Linked DNA regions of Homo sapiens: region 2 is linked to region 1. Evidence: promoter capture Hi-C in 16 types of primary human blood cells and fetal thymus (Javierre and others, 2016). All regions are on one chromosome and are shown on one strand. The core of a region is centred on a gene start or on the middle of the fragment in contact, and the rest is flanking DNA. Distances in the headings are between cores, read along the strand shown. Region 1 holds the start of KLHL2 (kelch like family member 2). Region 2 overlaps NAF1 (nuclear assembly factor 1 ribonucleoprotein).

Evidence for each region. Contacts are between HindIII fragments. The CHiCAGO score rates a contact against its expected background, and 5 or more counts as called.
Region 2: a fragment that was not itself captured here is called in contact with the fragment with the promoter of KLHL2 in region 1 in 4 of 17 cell types (activated CD4 T cells, total CD4 T cells, total B cells and 1 more); the score reaches 12.1 in activated CD4 T cells.

The regions. Positions count from the first base shown.
Region 1 is chr4:165,204,935-165,209,534 of GRCh38, forward strand. It overlaps KLHL2 (kelch like family member 2), which reads left to right and starts at 2,627. Exons shown (of 15, transcript NM_007246.4): 1 at 2,627-2,968. The coding sequence starts at 2,943. RefSeq lists an enhancer at 2,248-2,748 and a silencer at 2,279-2,928. The HindIII fragment of the contact is 2,287 bases long and covers 1,659-3,945 here.
Region 2 is chr4:163,153,802-163,158,401 of GRCh38, forward strand. The region is part of intron 2 of NAF1 (nuclear assembly factor 1 ribonucleoprotein); the gene reads right to left. Among named protein-coding and RNA genes, the nearest start is that of NAF1, 11 kb to the right of the region's middle. The HindIII fragment of the contact is 1,475 bases long and covers 1,778-3,252 here.

The DNA of each region.
Region 1 (4,600 bases), core at 1,377-3,876:
GTACTAAGGGTTTTTTGTTTGTTTGTTTGTTTGTTTTCTGGAACCCTTCACTAGGCTGCCAAGACACCTGCCTTGGATCTCCTTCTACTTCCCTGGTTGTTCCTTTACCATCGCCTTTGCTGAGTCCTCCTCCTCTTCTTTTTTAATGTTGGAGTGCCCCAGGGCTTACTTCTTGGTCTACTTCTTTTCTCTAGCTACATAATCTAGTTGATCTCAATACCCATCTGTATACTAACAACTTCCAAATTTATATCTACCCCAGATACATATATCTAATTGTCTACACCTATCTTCACATGGATGTTTAACAGACATCTCAAACTTACCATATCTAAATCAGAGTTTACAAATACAATCTCCACCCCGCCCTCCAATATTTGTTCTTTCTCAATATCCCCAATCCCAGTAAAGGGCAACTCAATTCTCCCCAGAGATCAGAACAAAACCCTTAGGATCATCTTTCTTTTATATGCTAATCTGTCAGCAGTTCCTGAGTACTTTACCTTCTAAACAGATTCAGAACCTGTTCACTTTTCTCAGTCACTCGGACTCTAATCCAAGCCATCCTTACCTTTCATCCCAGCTAGGCTAATCTCTTTGCTTGCTCTCTTGCCTCGCTATGCATGTTGCCCATACAGCAATCAGTCATCTTTTTTTTTAAAAAAAACTTTGTATTATGAACTTTTATTTATTTATGAATTTTGAGACGGAGTCTCGCTCTGTTGCCTGGGCTGGAGTGCAGTGGCCCGATCTCGGCTCACTGCAACCTCCGCCTCCTGGGTTCGAGTGATTCTCCTGCCTCAGCCTCCTCAGTAGCTGGGATTACAGGCACCCACCACCACACCCGGCTATTTTTAGAAGAGACGGGATTTCGCCATGTTGGACAGGCTGGTCTTGAACTCCTGACCTCAGATGATCCGCCCGCCTCGGCCTCCCAAAAAGTGCTGGGATTACAGGCGTGAGCCACCGCGCCCGGCCCATTATTATCTTTTAAAACATACACATAAACACACATAAATGATGACCACCCCTATGCACCCAACACTTAGCCTCAAAAATTAACATTTTGCAAATATTCATCTATTCACTTCTCTGTCCTTTTTTTTTTTTTTTTTGAGACGGAGTTTGTTTCGCTCTTGTTGACCGGGCTGGAGTGCAATGGCACGATCTCGGCTCATCGCAACCTCTGCCTCCCTAGTTCAAGCGATTCTCCTGCCTCAGCCTCCCGAGTAGCTGGAATTACAGGCATGCACCACCATGCCCGGCTAATTTTTTGTATTTTTAGTAGAGACGGGGTTTCTCCATGTTGGTCAGGCGGATCTCGAACTCCCGACCTCAGGTGATCGGCCCGCCTCGGCCTCCCAAAGTGCTGGGATTACAGGCGTGAGCCACGGCGCCCGACCTCTGTCCTTCTTTTTGTGGGATATTTTCAAACAAATCCCAGAAAAGTCATCCTTTTAATGATCAGATCAAGCTACTCACCACTTTCTAATTGCTTCTAATCTCAGTAAAAGCCAAGTCCTTTATCACGGCCTGCAAGGCCTGGGTGATCTGTGATTACTCCTCGCCACACCCATTCCTGCCGCCGTCCTCCTGACCTCACTCTGCTTCATTAGAGGGTCTCCCACCCTCGCGGCCCCAGCAAGCATCATCTGGAAAGCTTGTTAAAGCACACGCTGCTGGGCCCCACCCCCAGAGTTTCTGGTTCAGTAGGGCTAAAGTGGGACTGGAAAATTCGCATCTCTAACAAGTTCGCAGGTGCTACTGCTTCCAGCGGGCATACTTGGAGAACCACCAGCTGCACTGTTCTCCTTCCCGTTCCTCAACAAGGCAGGCAGGATCTTGCTTAGCAGTCTCCACGCTGCTCTTCCCTCTGCCCTAGGCATTCTTTGCATTACTCAAAGCCCCTGTTATTCCATCTCTTTAACTCATGCCTTTTGAGAGGCCTTCTCTGACCACTCTTTCTAAAATCTCTTTCCCTCTCCTCATCCTCATTTATGTTTCTTCATGGTAAGCATCACTTACTGTTTCCGTCACCCCGTCTAGATGGACAGCTCCACAAGCAGAAAGACTTGGTTTTGCTGTCACAGCCGCAGCACTAAAACCTTGCTTAGCAGGTGCTCACTTCACTTGTCCAAGGAATGGCTAGCATACTGAGGAGGGAGAGCCTGCTTCCTGCCTGGGACACTGGACAGGCAAATCACTTCTTCTTGCCTCAGTGCCACCCTTTGTAAGGACACTGGTTGGTTATGCCTACCCTTCCCATCTCCCTGGGTACAGGCACAAATGAAAAGAATAACGTGTACACGCCCGCGAAGCAGAGCAGCAAGTGGATACCGAGCATTATTACGCCGTGCGTTCGGCCGCCCTTTTTCTGCACGGAGAACCCCCTCCGCTCCCATTTTCCAGCGCCCCCGTCCCGGCGATCCAGAGACCCGCTGTGGGCGGCCGCCGCCCGCGTCCCGGCCTGCGGGCCAGCGTCTGGGCACGCCCGCCCCGCACCCGGCTGGCGCCCGCCCGCCCGCCTCCAGAAGCAGAAGCGGCAGCGGCAGCGGCAGCAGCAGCAGCAGGAGGAAGGGGAGGCGCCGAGGGAGGGGTACTCGGCCGCCGCGGGAGGCCGCATCGCAGTCCCGTCACAGCGTCGGCGCCGGCCGGGGCCGAACCCGGAAGTGGCCGAGCCCGCGCGCCCGCCGGTCCCGTCGCCGCCGCCCCGCACTCGGGCGAGCGCGGGAGCCGCGCAGTAGACGGAGCGCGCCCGGCCGAGCGGGCCATGGCCGCGGGGGCCGCCGCCGCAGGTGGTGGCGCGCGGTGAGGAGAGCGCGGCGCCCCCTCCGGGGCGGATGGAACGCGGCTCGGCGGGCGGGCAGTGCCGGCGTCCGCGGCTGGAATGGTGCTGGCTGTGTTGGTCGGTGCCTGCGTTCTGAAGCCCGAGAGGAGCCACAATGGAGACGCCGCCGCTGCCTCCCGCGTGAGTGAGCGGGCGGGCGGGCTGCGCCGCTGCGGATAAGCGCGCCGCTGCGGCGCGTGTCGCCGGCCGCGGGCGCAGCTCTGGGGACAGCCGCCGGGGCCGGCGGGAGGTGGGAGATGCGGGGCGTGACGAGGCGCTGTGCCCGCAGTCCTGAGCGGACGCGGACGGAAACTCAGCCTGGCCAGGCGGTGACTTAAAACGCTGCCCAGGATTTCTGGGGAAGGGTCTTCCCCATCTCGGGCGGATAGAAGATTCGGGGTGGGGCTGTGCATGGGTGACCCTGCAGGTCCTGTGTGTACCTCCCTGAAATGCATGGGCACCTGGTGCCGAGTTTGCCTACCCCTTTATAAGAGATCAGGCTAGGATGCACTGAGTCCGTTGAAAAAAGGAAACTGGAAAGTACCAGTCACCCGCTGTCTAAATGAATTGATCTTAGGTTGCTTGATTCCCCGAATTTCTAACAAAATTAATATCTGAGGAGCTTTTGCATCACTCTAAATGAGCGGCGGCCGTTCAGGGCATGTGACCTCTTTTACCTGGCACTGCAGAACGTTTTATCCAGAAATCAGCATCTTCTGTTTCGTTCGTACCTCGGGCAAATTAGTAGCGTATCGACCTGCCAGGCACAGGTGTCTTTTTTCTTTGGTACCCAAGTACATTCAAGATCACTGGCAACAGAATTACTTTCTAGAAATAATAGCTGAAACATTATGTAGAAGACATTATTGCATTATTCAGAACAAGGGTTTTTTTTTTAAATTTTAGTTTTTAGTTTTAAAAACATCTTGGTAAAAGTGAACTGTAAATACCCAGGAGTTTCGAAAATTTCAATTTTGGTTCCCTCTTCTCTTAGGAAGGAACAAGAGTCCTTTGAATCTGACTTTTCAAATCGCAGACAAACCTCATCCTGAAGAATGGTTTACCTTTTCATGAGAGCTTATTCATGGAGGCTTGTCGTTCTCCGGTCAAATTTGGCAAGCTTCACTCCATGCCGATTGTACCGCACCAGTCTCTTGTGGTTATTTGGCAGAATTCCAGCCAAAATAAGGATACTTGGCTTGGGTTGAATAATTTTTTGATGTTCAGCCCTTTTAGGAGAGCTAATGGGATTCTGGAACGACAGTTTCTAAAAGTGCGTTTCAGAATTTTTAGCTTGAGTGGAACAGGTCGTGGAAATCTAGGGGGTAGATAAGACTCTTGAATTGGCCTTCCTGGGCTGACAGAAGCAGGGGCTTAGTCACCTCTCGATAGCTGTGGCTTTGAGGGCTCTGAGATTTGGTCATGTTCTTCAGCAGGCTGGAGGAAGGCACCTGAACCCCTAGGAAATATGATGGTGGATGGTTCACATCAGCAGCATGAGCACACGGGGGTCTGCCCAGGCTCAGAAGCACTTAAAGCAGGATATGCTAGCTGTATTTAGCCAACATATGGTATATAATATGTAACATGTAGGTATGCTATCTGTAGTAAACCTGCCTTCTACATAAGTTCCTGCAGTTCGTTTTTACTTTTGGAACAGAGGGAGCTAAAGGAAAGAACAAGGGAATACTTAGAATGCAGGTGAAAAGAAGGGTGTGGGAAAGCAGCCTCTGGAGGGAGGGAGGGAATAGAGACACAGATGATTTAAATTGA
Region 2 (4,600 bases), core at 1,265-3,764, 2.1 Mb before region 1:
GGCAACCCGCTCGGGTCCCCTTCCACACCGTGGAAGCTTTGTTCTTTCGCTCTTTGCAATAAATCTTGCTACTGCTCACTCTTTGGGTCCACACTGCTTTTATGAGCCATAACACTCACCGCGAAGATCTGCAGCTTCACTCCTGAAGCCAGCGAGACCACGAGCCCACTGGGAGGAACAAACAACTCCAGACATGCCGCCTTAAGAGCTGTAACACTCACCGCGAAGGTCTGCAGCTTCACTCCTGAGCCAGCAAGACCACGAACCCACCAGAAGGAAGAAACTCCGAACACATCTGAACATCAGAAGGAACAAACTCCAGACGCACCACCTTAAGAGCTGTAACACTCACCGCGAAGGTCTGCGGCTTCATTCTTGAAGTCAGTGAGACCAAGAACCTACCAATTCCGGACACACTAGTACTCTGTAATATAGGAACGTACAGTTTCCTGTGCATTCCTAAAAAAGGCCAGTGATGGCATTAAGTTGCCTCTTGATAGTAACAACTCTACCTATAAAAGTGATGCACATGAAGTCTCGCCCCAAATACTCCACAAAACATAAAAGGTATATAAAAACTAAATAGTATATACAAAATATGTAAGAGGTAAGTGAAACCATCCTTGTATAATTCCAGGTTAAGATCCTGTTATAGAGTCTGCCTTTGAAAGTACAGTTAAATGAAGCAGTATATATTAATTTTGAAAAAGGCACATATGTGGAGGTCTGAATTAAGGGAAAACAGATCTATTTGTTTCTTTTAAATGAGCATGCTAAGAGAGGAGGACAGGCCAGGAATGGTGGCTCATGCCTGTAATCCCAGCACTTTGGGAGGCCAAGGCAGGCGGATCCTGAGGTCAGGAGTCTGAGACCAGCCTGGCCAACATGATGAAATCCCATCTCTACTAAAAATACAAAAATTAGCCAGGCATGGTGGCAGGCACCTGTAATCCCAGCTACTCAGGAGGCTGAGGCAGGAGAATCACTTGAACCTGGGAGATGGAGGTTGCAGTGAGCAGAGATCGCACCATTGCACTCCAGCCTGGGCGACAGAGCAAAAGACTCCATCTCAGAAAACAAAACAAAAACAAAAAAAAAAAAACAGAGCGAGAGAGGAGAACAAAGAGGAAAAATAACTCAAACGCCAACAGGAAGGCACCCAAGAGATGTGCTTTCCATGAAAATTTTTGGCAGGTTCAGAGAGAACTTTAGAAGGTTCAAAGGGGATAGATCTCTGAAAGGTACAAAAAGCGATTTCCTTTGGCAGCCATGTCAGACAAGGTAATATAAGATTTTTGTTTTGATGTATGAATGCCAAATGTCACCATCTCTTTTTCAACTAGCAAATTTAATCTACTGTATCACTACCAAGCCTAGTCATTCTTTATCAAACTATCCTGCTGCTTTGCTTTTTTCTAAACACATTGTTGTCCAATATTTCTGTATTTACTTAATGTCTATTTCTCTAACTACACAATAAATCCAACCATAACTAAGACCTTTTTAGTCCCAATCATAACGAGGACCCAGTCTTGCTCATTGCTATAGCACCCAAAAAGATGGCTAGCACATAGTAGGTATTTAGTATTAATATATATCTATTAGATGAACTAACCTACCTCTTCAGTCCAAGCTTAGCAAAAATCTCAAAAGTCAGTCTTTGTCTGAGCAGAAATCAGATAATGAAAATATAACCCGATATAGAATCCTCAAAGAATGAAAAAGACTTGAACCTAATCTTCTCAAAAATAAAATTTAAAAGCCAGGCTTCCAAGGAAGCTTAACTGCCTAGGATTGATGCATAGGTACCTCTGGGTTGCAGTAGCAAACATTATTACAATTATTAGATTAACACTTGGCTCCCTGAAAACACACCTGCTGCCCCTCCTAAGATAATGAATAAATCTCCTCAGATATAAAATCTCCTTTAAGGAAATAAAAATCAATCACTTTGCTTTTCCACGTTTCAGGGAAGGGTGTATATGTGTGACAGAGAAGAGAAACACAGACACACTCCAATAAAGGGGAAAATACGGCCAGAAAACATACTGTGGGACATTACCACTCTGGCAGTGCACAGAAGATACAAAGAATTAGATGTAAAAGGCATACTAATAAACTAAAAAAATTGAAGGTAGAGGTGATAGGAAAGGCCTGGGATAGAAAGACCTTCTTCATCACACATAAGCAACAACCAAGGGTACTAAAAATAAAAGACAAGGTGATTTAGTGCAGATTAGAAAGATTAAAGTATCTGCCTGGATACCAACAACCCCTGTTAAAAGAATGATGAGTAGATAGGAAAGACTTTTTGTTTTATTTACTCAATATTAGATACAAATTTAAATTTAATTAAAATTAAATAAAATTTAAAATTTGGTCTCAGAAAACATACTGTGGGACATTACCACTCTGGCAGTGCACAGAAGATACAAAGAATTAGATGTAAAAGGCATACTAATAAACTAAAAAAATTGAAGGTAGAGGTGATAGGAAAGGCCTGGGATAGAAAGACCTTCTTCATCACACATAAGCAACAACCAAGGGTACTAAAAATAAAAGACAAGGTGATTTAGTGCAGATTAGAAAGATTAAAGTATCTGCCTGGATACCAACAACCCCTGTTAAAAGAATGATGAGTAGATAGGAAAGACTTTTTGTTTTGTTTACTCAATATTAGATACAAATTTAAATTTAATTAAAATTAAATAAAATTTAAAATTTGGTCTTCAGTCACACTGGCCACATTTCAAGTAAGACAGCACAATATGGACATCCCCAACACTGTAGAAAGCTCTATTACACAGCACTGCTTTACATTCTCACACATCAAAAAAGCCCTCCATTACAAAACATATTCCCAGGCATTAACAATATCAATTTATTTCTGGCCATTAACACAGGTATAATTTTAAGACCACATTTTAACAGCATGCACCATATTACTAATGAAGTCTTAATGCTAACCTGAATACTCTACTTGGAAATGGAGATTTGTGATAAATCTATATTTTAATTTCATTGTTTCCCAAAATTAAAATGCAACTAAAAGCCTGTTCTGGATGTACATTATCTGCCATTAGAAATAACTATTTTATCATACAAATGAAATTTTTGTAAATGTTTACTAACAAAAAATCAAAGAACAGCAAAAAGTTTTTCTGGACTCATTTATTCAATACTTCTACACATAACAAAGAGTAGGAAAGGAAAGGAAGAAAACTATTTCATTCACATCATTAGCAAATGAAAAGCTTGCATGGAAATAAACATCCCCAAACACCACAGCATTTCGCAAATGAACTACTAAAATTCAACATACTAAAGAAGCTCCACCATTTATTTCCCACACACTACACAGTTCCAAGTCAAAAGCTTTATTGAGAGGCAATATAATCCAAGCAAATACAATTTTAAAAAGCTTACATTAGATGATACATTCATCCTTCACTTTGAGAAAATATGCTACATGATTATTCAGAAACCAAATAATGAGAAAGTCCAAACGACCAGATTCCAACGTTGCTATGCAGGTCTCCACAAATACTAAAAACACAGCAGTTTGGAATGTATCTATTACCAGTTCAGATCTGCTCCTCCCCACTAATATGACTTCAGACAAGTCTCTTTCTTTCTGGTTTCATTTTTCTTACCTACGAATAGTAAGGAAACTGAGCACAAGTTCTAAACAGTTACACAAATGGCTAACGACAATTTAAATGTCCAACTGCATGTAATCAAAAAGACAACACATTAATACAGAAATTATATACTAGATCCCAATAAAAAAATTACTGTGCTTCTGTGATAACAGATACTCGTAACGATGGCATTAAAGAAATGCAAGATCCTAACCACACTTCTGGAATATCCATGAAAGAGCAATTATTGTCTGTTTTGTAAGATTATTATATTTTAATTTTCTAACATCTGTATGGTCTACAAGGTTATTCAGTTAAGCAAAATATTCAAAAGAGTACCACATAACATTAAAAATCCATCCTATTAAAAATGAGGTTATAGACATACCAGTCAAAAAATGGGTGCCTAAAACTTTCAATGCAAAAATGGAAGAAGCTAATATGTCAAAAGTGGCCCTCTGAAAAGGTAACATTTATAATTTACAACACTGTTGACTTTTCAAGCATTTGTGAAGGCTTATTGAGCAAAAAAGAGTATCAGTAAATTGATGACTTTCTAAAGTAAAATTATATAAAGAACTTTCAGTAGGATTTTCACTCACAAATATGGAAAAAGGACAACAGAGGTTGGTGGGAGAAGGAATCAAACATTCCAAATGAAAACTAAACCTTTTTGGTGTCAGTTTGGGGAGAATTGAGAAAAGTGAGGAAGGTGGGATGAAATTATCTAACCACTTTTCTCATATTACCCAACACAGGACATGCACGTGGCAGCCAATTACCTGATGCTATTAGGTGAGCCTTCACTTTTCAGATATGGTTGGAAAGTAGGATCCAATCCCTGGAGTACTGAGAGCCATGACTGAATTTTTTTTTTCTCTATAGCTGGTAAAACATATTGGAAAAAGAATGGATTAGGTCTGTACACTTTGTGTCAACTATGACCATACTTAACATGT